Linked DNA regions of Homo sapiens: region 1 is linked to region 2. Evidence: promoter capture Hi-C in 16 types of primary human blood cells and fetal thymus (Javierre and others, 2016). All regions are on one chromosome and are shown on one strand. The core of a region is centred on a gene start or on the middle of the fragment in contact, and the rest is flanking DNA. Distances in the headings are between cores, read along the strand shown.

What was found. The method cuts DNA at HindIII sites, captures the fragments that hold promoters and counts their contacts. A CHiCAGO score of 5 or more calls a contact.
Region 1: a fragment that was not itself captured here is called in contact with the fragment with the promoter of HMGA2-AS1 in region 2 in 1 of 17 cell types (naive CD4 T cells); the score reaches 6.0 in naive CD4 T cells.

Annotation. Positions count from the first base shown.
Region 1 is chr12:64,871,252-64,877,265 of GRCh38, forward strand. It overlaps TBC1D30 (TBC1 domain family member 30), which reads left to right. Exons shown (of 12, transcript NM_015279.2): 12 at 3,750-6,014. The coding sequence ends at 4,537. Among named protein-coding and RNA genes, the nearest start is that of LINC02389, 9.5 kb to the right of the region's middle. RefSeq lists enhancers at 1,486-1,565, 1,596-1,695. The HindIII fragment of the contact is 2,727 bases long and covers 107-2,833 here.
Region 2 is chr12:65,879,755-65,885,582 of GRCh38, forward strand. It overlaps HMGA2-AS1 (HMGA2 antisense RNA 1), which reads right to left and starts at 2,571. Exons shown (of 3, transcript NR_158985.1): 1 at 1,964-2,571. The region is part of intron 3 of HMGA2 (high mobility group AT-hook 2); the gene reads left to right. The HindIII fragment of the contact is 6,963 bases long and covers 1-5,395 here.

The DNA of each region.
Region 1 (6,014 bases), core at 220-2,719, 1.0 Mb before region 2:
AAAAACATTAAAAACCTGTGCCTTGCTGATGGCAAGTATCTTGGGAATATACTAAGAAGAACACAATTATAATGCAATTGGAAATGCTCTTTTCCAAGGATTGCCAAGCTTTTTTCTTTTTAATTCCAAAAATCCCAGTGAACAGTCTGCTTTATTGTTTAATATATGCTGATTTGGGAGTTGTTTTTTCTTGCTTGAAGTGAATATCTTAATGAAAATGGTGCCTGTCCAGAATTAACTGAAATATAAATTTGACATGTTTTTAAAGTGGCATGTGAGCATGTGACTGATCCTGCACAAAAACTGAATTTACCTTCCATTTATCAGAGAAGAATAGTTGACTTCTTGATGATTCTCACTTTATCCTGAGTCATTAAGAAACCAGTCACAAAATAACTGAACAATTTCACTTTAAGTTTCAAAAACATTGGCACATACATTTCCTCATTTTGTCCTTAAAACAAATCTATGAGGAAGGCAAGGACAGATAGTCCCATCTTCTTCCAAATAGTGAGGAAATGGTGATTCAGGAAGGCTTAGCAATTGTCCAGGGTTATATAGCTATAGTGAGTGGTCAGGCCAGGGCTAGAACACAGGTGTTCTGATTCTTTGTACAGTCCCTTTTTAACTACACTGTACAAGTCTTTGGGTGTGACGGTAAACAATTGCTCAGGGTGCTAAATCGGCCCAGTGGTTTGTACCTTCATCAGGGATCAGCAAACTGTGGTCTGTAGGCCAAATCCTGCTCACTACCTGTTTTTGTAAATACAGTTTTTTGTTTGTTTGTTTGTTTTGAGATGGAGTCTTACTCTGTCATTCAGGCTGGAGTGCAGTGGTGCAATCTCAGCTCACTGTAACCTCCACTTCCCAAGTTCAAGCAATTCTTGTGCCTCGGCCTCCCAAGTAGCTGGGATTACAGGCATGCACCACCATGCCTGGCTGATTCTTGTATTTTTAGTAGAGACGGGATTTCACCATGTTGGCCAGGCTGGTCTTGAACTTCTGACCTCAGGTGATCTGCCCACCTTGGCCTCCCAAAGTGCTGGGATTACAGGAGTGGGCCACCGCACCTGGCCTGTAAATACAGTTTTATTGGAACACAGGCATGCCCATTTGTTTACAGGTTGTCTAAGGCTCCTTTCACACTACAGTGGCTAAAATATTTACAGTCTGGTCCTTTACAGGAAAAGTTTGCTGACCCCTTCTTCAGATCATGGTTGATGGTGGTTCTCTTTAAGGGAGAGATTGCTGCTCAAAGGCAAAGCTCTAGAGCTTTGGTTCTTGAAATTTAGTGTGCATACAGATCATTTGGGGATCTGCTAAAATATTCACTCTGTTTCAGTAGGTTTGGAATGGAGCTGAAATTATATGTTTCTAACAAGCCCGTAGGCACTGCTGGTGCTGCTGCATGGGGACTGTATTAGTCTGTTTTCACACTGCAAATAAAGACATACCTGAGACTAGGCAATTTATAAGAGGCTTAATGGACTTACAGTTTCACATGGCTGGGGAGGCCTCACAATCATGGTGGAAGGCAAGGAGGAACAAGTCACATCTTACGTGGATGGCAGCAGGCAAAGAGAACTTGTGCAGGGAAACTCCCATTTTTAAAACTATCAGATCTTGTGAGACTTCTGCACTATCATGAGAACAGCACGGGAAAGACCTACCCCCATGATTCAATTATCTCTTACTGGGTCCCTCCTACAACACGTGGGAATTATGGGAGCTACAAGATGAGATTTGGGTGGGGATATGGCCAAACCATATCAGAAACCATGGTTTGAGTAGCATGGTTTTAGATGAGATGGTATATGATAGGATTAGCAGCACAGGTGGAGAGATTGAACTTGAACTAGAGGCAAAAAGACCTTAGCTTCTGAGACTTAGTGGAAGGTGGTGAGTATGGTGGTTGAGGTATCAGCTTCCGAAGTTAGGGAGGATGGGAAATAGAGGCCTTTCAGATCTGATAGCTTTTGTTTTCATGGAGTAATTGGGGGAAAGTTGTTTGGTGGGGATTGGGAGTAAATGAGAGGTTAAAGAAAGTAATGAAGATTTAGTTAGGTCACTGAAGGGAGCGAGAAAGGGAAATGAAAAGATTGTTTGGCATTGAGGACCCAGTGAAATGGGAGGTCATGAATTTAAAGGGCTCAGTTTCAGAAAAGAGAATGTAGATCATGGACCCTAGGTTGGGGCTTTACTAGCAATGTGTGACAAAGAGACAGGGATGCCTGTGAGGGAGTGATCTAAGCGGTCAGCCATGCATCTGGCAGGGTAGGGGTGTCAGTGAGCCGAAGACACATGAGGGGTTGTGAGGAGCCTGAGGAACAAGGAGCCAGAAGTCTCTGTGGTTCATTACCACATATAGTTAGACTGAGAGCCTGAGAGCTAGAAGAGCCAAAATGAGGAGTATTAGAATTAAATATTTTCACATAAGGTAGAGCTGGGTGATAATGTTTAGGATGGAACTGGAGAGGTTGAGGAACTATGAGAATGTAATGGAGGGCCAATCACAGTGACAGTCAAATAATTGGGGAGGTGGCAGGAATGTGGTGAAGAGGAGACAGTTATCAACATTTTTAGTTGATACTGGGGTATGACCAGTGGTAAATGACAACAGTAGAGAAGGGTGGAAATTAGTTCAGCCAGATGACATGGACATCAAGGAAGAAGGAAACTCGCACACAGAGGGAGAGGCCTTCTCCCTACAATTTCTGTCTGCAGCTGCCATCCTGGGACCATGTGTGTTGAATGCTGCATTGGAAATAGGAGTCTGGTCATAGCCGCAGGTGGTCAATGATAATGCCATCGACAGTGCCTTCTAGGAGAACAAAGCTTTTTTGTTCGTTTGTTTTGAGAAGGAGTCTCACTGTATTGCCCAGGCTGGAATGCAGTGGCGCAATGTCAGCTCACTGCAACCTTCACCTTCCGGGTTCAAGCAATCTCCTGCCTCAGCCTCCCAAGTAGCTGGGACTACAGGCATGCACCATCACACCTGGCTAATTTTTGTATTTTTAGTAGAGACAGGGTTTCACCATGTTGGCCAGGCTGGTCTCGAACTCCTGGCCTCAAGTGATCCTCCTGCCTTGGCCTCCCAAAATGCTGGAATTACAGGCATGAACCACGGCACCTAGCTGAGGACAAAGCTTTTGGTGCTTTTCAGTTTTCAATTGGCTTTCGAAGTCCATTGAGGACACAGGAGTGGTTTTTCACCTGTAGGGCTAGATGCTGGATAGCTGTGATTTCACTGCATTCTCACTACCTTTTTATCACTTCTGTCATTCTGCTGGATCTCACTTCATAATATGCAGTGTGTTCTTTTCCTACCTCTCAGAGGCTGACAGATGATAATCCATATGGTCATAGTGTTTGTTGTATTATTTTTTTTAAATCTGCAAAGATTTTTCTAAGTACAGTAACTCAGAGGTTGCTACTCAGAGCCAAGAGCTCTCTGTAAAAAAAAAAATTAGGGAGTCCAGGCTCTGATTAGGAATGAGGGGTCAGATGTTCCTTTTTGTATCATCACCCTGTGGTCCCTTCCTCTTTAAAGAAGAGCGCATTGGTATTCCAGGCTCTTCGGTTGAATTCAGTTTCTGCTGTCTTCAGTCACATGACTCTGCCCCTCCCTGGGGAACACATGGGAAGGGATGTGGTAGACGGGGCTGGGAGGACCTCTAAGTGATTTCTGTTCCAAGATGGATGTGTTTCTTTGTGGTACACTTCATACTACCTTTCAACATTTCTTTCAGACAAAGGGCCAGTGACCAGCATTCTCCCGTCTCAGGTAAACAGTTCTCCAGTTATAAACCACCTTCTTTTAGGAAAGAAGATGAAAATGACTAACAGAGCTGCCAAGAATGCTGTCATCCACATCCCTGGTCACACAGGAGGGAAAATATCTCCTGTCCCCTACGAAGACCTTAAGACGAAGCTCAACTCCCCGTGGCGAACTCACATCCGAGTCCACAAAAAGAACATGCCAAGGACCAAGAGTCATCCGGGCTGTGGGGACACCGTAGGGCTGATAGATGAGCAGAACGAGGCCAGCAAGACCAATGGGCTGGGGGCAGCAGAGGCATTCCCCTCTGGTTGTACAGCGACAGCTGGGAGAGAAGGCAGCAGCCCTGAAGGCAGTACCAGGAGGACGATCGAGGGGCAGTCTCCGGAGCCGGTGTTCGGAGATGCTGATGTGGATGTGTCTGCAGTTCAGGCGAAGTTGGGAGCCCTGGAACTGAACCAGAGGGATGCTGCAGCTGAAACTGAGCTCAGGGTGCACCCACCCTGCCAGCGGCACTGCCCAGAGCCGCCGAGTGCACCCGAAGAAAACAAAGCCACCAGCAAAGCTCCCCAAGGCAGCAACTCAAAAACCCCCATCTTTAGCCCTTTTCCCAGCGTCAAGCCCCTGCGGAAATCTGCTACTGCCAGGAACTTGGGATTATATGGCCCTACAGAAAGAACCCCAACTGTGCACTTTCCTCAAATGAGTAGGAGCTTCAGCAAACCCGGCGGTGGAAACAGTGGCACTAAAAAACGATGATGTCTCCCCGAAACTTTGTATCTGGACTCACCTTTTCACAGTAGTATAAGGGTTGCAGCTGAATGGCTCTAAAAGAGTTTTATTTGTCCAGTGAAAATGAATAGGTTCAGGGATGAGCAACAGCCCATAAAAAATGGGAACTGGAAGTTTTATAATAGGAGTTAGAACAGGGCTGTTTTCCCAGCTACTTGCTAACTGACGAAGTGGATTCTTGTGGCAAAATAAATATTGTGGTTTTATAGTGTGAAGTTTTCCCAATTTTTCATTGTGAGCTGTTTAAAAAAGACTATATCTAGATTGTTAACTCTCGTCCATCCTTCTGTTCTGGGGGCCTTCAGAGTCCCTGTGACAGCACCCCCAAACCTTCCAGTTCTCTGGGTGTTACTAATACTCAAGCATGCACATACCAGCTTGCTAGGACAGAAACTGTAAAAAGAAAGTAAGTTTCTTCGTTACAAAAAACTTCCTGATTTTCCTTTTCATGCTTTACGGAGGGGATTGTGTCGTGTGAGATTTCCCACAGTACCAGTTTCAAATTTTTTTTTTATTCTTATGCTAAATCATAGGAGAAAAATCTAGATAGCCTTTCTTTAACTGTCTATTTCTACCTGCAAAATGAAGAAAACCTTTCATCTGTTGAAATTTCAATCGATAACCCAGCTGAAGATCTTATGCACAGGACACACTTGGCATATGCTTTACGCAGTTGCTCCGGACAGCTTGCTCGCGCCACTGAGCTTTTCCTGAGGTTTGTGTTCGCCTCTCAAGGAGAGCTTTGATCCTCAGTGGTACGGATGACTTGATGGGCTCCATGCGGAGCCTGGCCTGCATCCCCCACCACACAGCTCACTCACCCACCAGCTCTAGACTGCAGACGCACAAGGCCTCTGCTCAGAAGCCAGAACACAGCACCTGTGACTCTGTTACTTGAATTTTGTGCTTTTTGATTGGAGTCCTTTGTTGAGTACTTTGTTAATTGAACACTGCCTTTCTCTGGAGAAGGCCCCAGTGCTTTCTAGCTCCCTCTCACTCCTGCCCTTTCTAGCTCTCTCTCACCCAGCGGGTCAGGGATAGCACCTCTTGTCTCCACTATGCAGATGGGAACTCTGAGCCACACAGAGGTGAAGTAGCACTTCAGTTACTCAAGGTCAGTACTCTCGGTATTCCAAGTGACTTAGCCACATTTCCTTCAGTGCAATAGGTGGGTTTAATGCTCTTTGTACACAGATGTATTGGCTACATAGCGTGTAAAAACCAAGACTGGGAAGCCATTCACTAAAATCCCTCCTGACTCAAAGGACCTGTCTCCAGATGGTACAGAGTCCCTTGATGGCATTTTACAAAACCAGCTCTGACTTCCTTATCCTGAACAGGGAGTTTATTTTAAAAATGCTTCATGCACCTGTTATTTGGCTGAACAGAAGGCTCACTCCTCAATCCCCTTCTCCTCGCCATCATTAGAGGAATAGACTCAGCC
Region 2 (5,828 bases), core at 1,321-3,820:
TGTACACATATATTTATGCATATGTGGATGTGTGTTTATACATATATTCTATGTATATATCCTTGGGTGGGAACAGGGTGCAAAGATCTAAGCATAACATATCTCCACAGGGATTTATGTTCTTTTCAGTCTGGTATCTTTTAACTTAAAAACAACTCGATGAATAGAAATCATAAAAGCCATCCTTACAACAGCATTAAAGTGCTATTCTATTCTGCAGCATTCCAAGTGAATTATTGCTGTGCTGTCAAAGAAAACAAAAACATTTGAGAAGGACTGTTTATTTTACAGTGGTTGACCAAAAGTATGCAAGTGGTTATAAAAAAATGTAGACAGCTAACGATGGGAGGTGCCACTTGCACATTCTGAAATCCATTCACAAACCTTTGACACTAACTCTTGATCACTGGAGATAATATTAGAAGCAAAGCATTTTTCACGGGGAAAATCCTAGCACTTTGAAAGCATTTCAGGTCAAAGCAAATAAATAAAACCTCTATCCCTCATCCTGTATCACTGGCATCTCCTCACTCACAGAACCTAATGGCATGATTGTTTTTTCCCAAGAAGAGCAAGAAAACTTTGCAAAAATATTTCTCTCAGAGGTTATGGCAATGAAGGATTTTTGTGCCATGAAACACGTGTTGCCCTTTGTATTTAAAGATTAAAATAAAAACTGCTGTTGACAATGTTAATAGATTCTTTCATTAAACAAATATTTCATTTTAGAGCTATATGGGAAATTAGAGACCTCAAACACAGTCCCTGTATATTAAAGATAACAAAATGTATACTTAGGGAAGATAAATGACTTGCTTAAGGTCACACAGCAGGTAGCATGGAAGGATGAGTTAGAAGTACTAGTTCAGTGTTTGTATTTGTATGTTTTGCCTCAGAATCAGACAATGTACAGTTAAGACCTCATCGATATCTCCCGGTAAATGCTTATTTAATGTTTAAGAATTTTCACTGGTAAAGAGATTCTTATTCCAGGAGTCTAGGTCTTGGGGTTTAGGTTTCTTTTACTTAAAAAAAAAATTCCTCTGATAAGTGAGGATTCATTTAACTTTCTGGTGGATCATTAGGTACCTTTCAAGAAATGAGAATAATCATAACTGGCTCTATTTATCTTAGCATGGGTTGAAAGATATGAAAAGTTCCTTGATATGACTGGCACGATTCTATCCCATAAAACCACTCGTAAATATCAGTTGAAATAATGCCTGTAGGGAAAATTTTCAAATGTCCTTTCTGTCAATGCAGAAATGCCAGTGCAGCTTGTTTTCTGGGTGGCATGTAAGTTGTAGACAGGCACCACATTTTAGACATATTATGGTGGTGCGGTGAATTGACAGGCAGTTTACCACCATTTCCATGTATTAGATTATGTGTACCTCTGGCTATCCTGACACTTTGCCCCCAAAGTGGAGATAGTGAAAGAGAAGGAGAGAGGGAGAAGAACTCCTCGCATCTGTGCCCCTACCTCAGCAGCTCCTCCTCCTTGTCTCTGAGGGTCTCCAGAGTTTGAGAGTTTGGTGTCATGTTGGCCCAAGAGACTGTTGTCCTTTTGACAGCTCGGCTGTTTGTATCTCCAGAATGAAACATAATCAGATTTTTTTCAGATGTAGCATCTGCCTTCCCTCCAACATCCTTGGGTTAATCACGTGCTTGCTGGCCAGGATATGTAAATAAGACTTGGCTAAAAAAAACCCTTAAAGGATTATGAAGCAATCTTGCTTAATAGTAGCAGAACAAAACAAAACAAAAAACCACTCCAACAAATCCTCCTGTGTGCTACCAAGTAATGGAAAGATCCAGTTATGACTGGAACTGTCCTGGCCTGAGTATTGTCCTGGACCCAGAGGGAGCGAAGGAGGGAGGGAGGGAGGGAGGGAGAAAGAGAGAGAGAGAGGGGAGAAATATGAGAGGAGGAGAGAAATTGCTGAAGGAGAGCTTCACTCACTGACTCCGCACACATTCCCTCCCAGTGGTTGCTAATGAAGAGCCCGTGCTGGTGAAGGAAGCCTGCTGATCCCGGAACTGGCCTTGCGCGCAAGTGGTGGGATGACAGACACATTCCCTTCCTTGAACTGCACTCTTTTCCCTTGCACTCAGAGGTGGCCCGAGAGAGCCCCGGTAGGTCCCGGAGTATGTTTCCATGCTGCAGAAGGCATGGAGAGATTCCAATTGCGGGGGTTCCTCCGTAGCCTTTGCAGCTGAACGTCTCCATCTCCTGTCCCTGGGCGGTCAGTCGCTGGCATGGCTCTGTGGAGTTTTACCTCCCAGTTGTCTATCACCAAAGCTGTCCACCTTGTCCGGAGGGGAATGAGCGTGGAAACCCCTGGCGGCTGTACTGACAAAAGCAACCTTAGTCAATGACAGAGCTGGGCAGGCGGCGAGGTCTTGCGGGCTGGCCTTTCTGCTGCTGGTAGGAGGATCATGTGCTGCTATTTCGGAGGCTCCTGCCAGTTGGCCCCTGCCCACCTTTTCTGTTCATACTGAAGCAGCCAGGAACTGAGAGAAAGAGGAAGCCTCGGCTGTGCTCCGGGCTGCGCTGCCAGGGTTGCGTCTGTAGCAGGTCCAGCAGCAAAAACAAAACAGGGCAGAGCCCAGGGAGGCCCCAGCCACAGCAGCTGAGTGTGGAAACAAAGCAGCCCGCCCGCCCTGGGAAGCTGCCGCAGGCTGTGGAAGGGAACTTCTAGAGAGGCTGCATCCTCTCCAAGCCGGGAAACTGAGGCCTAGAAGACATGTGACGTATCTGAGCAGTGACCAAGCCAGGAGTAGAAATGTCTCCTGAGGGCCTGTCCCCACTGCTGTTTGGTTTTAATCGCTCAGCTCTTAATAGTGTAACCCTGGACAAGTGACTTACTCTCCCCAGCCTCCATCTCATCTGTAAAATGGGGATGAGAAAATACCTCTAAGGGTTGTTGTGACAATTAAATGAGAAAGCATAAACAAAGCACTTGGCACAATGCCTGGCCACTTAATGGGCCCTCAGTAAATGTTGGCTAGTTATGTGAACCAGAACTTGAGATGGAAGTGAAGCAGAAACGATAGGGAGTTGTTCAAAAATACCTGATCTGCTAGGGAAATATTTTTTAAAACAAGGCTGCTTTTCACAAGGAGGGGTAGGCACACTTGAATTAAGATCAGATTGATTATATGTTTTTGTTCAGCTTTGATGTTGAATTGTTTAATCAAATGGCAGACTCTGCCCCGCTTCCAGGAAGAGCTCAACTCCAACTAGGAGGAAGCAGGTAATGTGAGCCATGGCATCTTCCCCGTTTAGATTTCCTGACTCTTTGTTTATCTTCTTTGTCAATGTGCGTCTGAACCTTCCCAACAGAGTTTAAAATGTTCAACTTCAAAGCTAAATTCTGATGGAAAACACTTCCTAAGAGGCTGAAGGCTTACTCTAGGGGTGAAAGAAGAGGAAAGGCGATGGATCACACCACATTTGTGGAAAATGTTAATGCTATGTGATCTTGCCTCCTTAGACCCAGATAGATGCAAAGGATAAGGAACTCGGTTTATAGCAACAGATACTCCAAAAGTGCTTTGCATCCTGTTCTGACACTAACTGGTTGTGAATCACTTGTTAAAGATAAGGATAACAACAATACCATTTCTTGAGCCCTTACTGGGTGTCTGGTATTGTGCAAAGTACTGTCTATATATTACCTCAGTTTCCACAACAACCTTATGAAATATTTCTTCCTTTTGTGATGAGGAAAGTGAGACTTAGAGAGAAGTTAAATAACTTGTTCAAGATCACTCAGCTAATAAATGCTCCTATGCACTTAGTCACTGTGCTATGTCCTGCTTACCCCTTAATGTTGACCTTAATCCTAACTTGAATTTAGGTTAATGTCTATGCACTGCTTTTTTTTCACCTGCAAATCAAGGGCTGTACTAACAGTTTTGCTAAGGCCACTTCTTTGAAAATTGTAAATATTTCCAGAAAGAGGCACAGTTTACAATAAACATTCTTGCTTTCCAAATAAATTCTCCCCTATTAAAATCAATGTACCAGTTGTTATTTTCATACCTATGCATTGTTTAAGATAGAGAGTTCAGGACACAATTGAAAACTGGGAAAAATAATCTCGTGGTTCGGTTTGTTAGTTTGAGACGCAGTCTCACTCTGTCGCCCAGGCTAGAGTACGGTGGCCCAATCTCAGCTCACTGCAACCTCCAACCTCCCAGGTTCAAGCAATTCTCTTGCCTCAGCCTCCCGGGTAACTGGGATTACAGGCGCGCACCACCACGCCCAGCTAATTTTTGTGTTTTTAGTAGAGATGAGATTTTGCCATGTTGGCCAGGTTGGTCTTGAACTCCTGACCTCAAGTGATCCACCCACCTCGGCCTCCCAAAGTGCTGGGATTACAGGTGTGAGCCACCGTATCTGGCTCTCATATTTTTTATATACAGATTGAATATCCCTAATTTGAAAACCTGAAATCTGAAATCTTCCAAAATCCAAAACTTTTTGAGCAGTTACATGATATTTGAATGAACTGCTCATAAGAACATTTTGGATTTCAGATTTCCAGATTAGAGATGCTGAAGAGGTAAGTATAAGACAAATATTCCAAAATCTGAAGAAAATCAGAAATGCAAAACAGTTCTGGTCTCAAGCATTTCAGACACTCAGCCTGTATTTGCATGCTCATGGCTGTTGGGAAAAATTAACATATTCACCAAATTGTGCCTGGTCAATTGATAATGACTGATCAATATTAATGCACAAGTATATCTACTTTTGCTGTCAAGGGCAAAATTTAAACTTTACTTGCACTAGTCTTTATCTCTAAGGAAACTTGTACATTTATGCATGTAATTTGGTATCCTCAAGGTAAAAAGTCCAAATAGCATTATTTACTAAGTGAAATTTCTCTATTAAGATTTTTCATATCCTAATGGAATTATGCTTCTAAATTCTCAATATTTATTAGTATTGTTGAAATTTTGTGAATTAGATTCATCTGGATTAATATGTACTAGAATCATTACCTGTATGAACTTGGACGCGTTTCTTAATCTATCTGGGCCTTAGTTGCCTCAGCTGCAAATTGGGAATGAAAATGGTATCATCATATTATAATGGTTGTTGAGAATATTAAATGAGCTAATTATGTAAAGTGCTTCAAATTGCGCCTGGCACATAGTGCTATATGTGTTAATTAATTGTATTAATCACTTGTGACTTCCAATTGATTCTATTTTAATTGATATTCTATAATATAATTTGCTTCCTTCATCTCTCATGTATACAAATTAAATTTGTATAGAAAGTCTTCTCTTCTAAGAAATTTTCATTCTTGTACTTCACCCTCTCTTTAGCTCTGTAGTAAGTAGTTTCTGTTTATTTATTCCTTAGAACTTTATCTAGAGAAGCTTTTGATATTAAGCTGTGACATATAACAGATGAAATTACAGTCATTGAATTTATTTTCTCTGAATTACAGATTATTTTAGGTAGAATTTATCTTCCTTTTTTTTCTGGTGCCCAAGTCTTAGAGAAACATGTTTTCAGCCCTGATCATGATAAATAGTGGGTTTTTTAAATGACATCACGAGATACATATTTCTCAGATACAAAGGATTGTTGTTATGTTCTTTTGGCCAGAAGACACTCGTCTTCCTGGGAAATGTAGCCACAAAATGCTGGGTTTTAGTTTTATTAATATCCTTGTAGATTAAAAACAAAATGTTTTCCCTCTAAGTTTTTGTTCTTTTCCATTTGGCAAACCCGGTGATTTGCCACATGAGCCAATGTGTGTCTCATTTGCTTATTTTCTTGTGCACTAGCAGCCCTGGTGATAGCA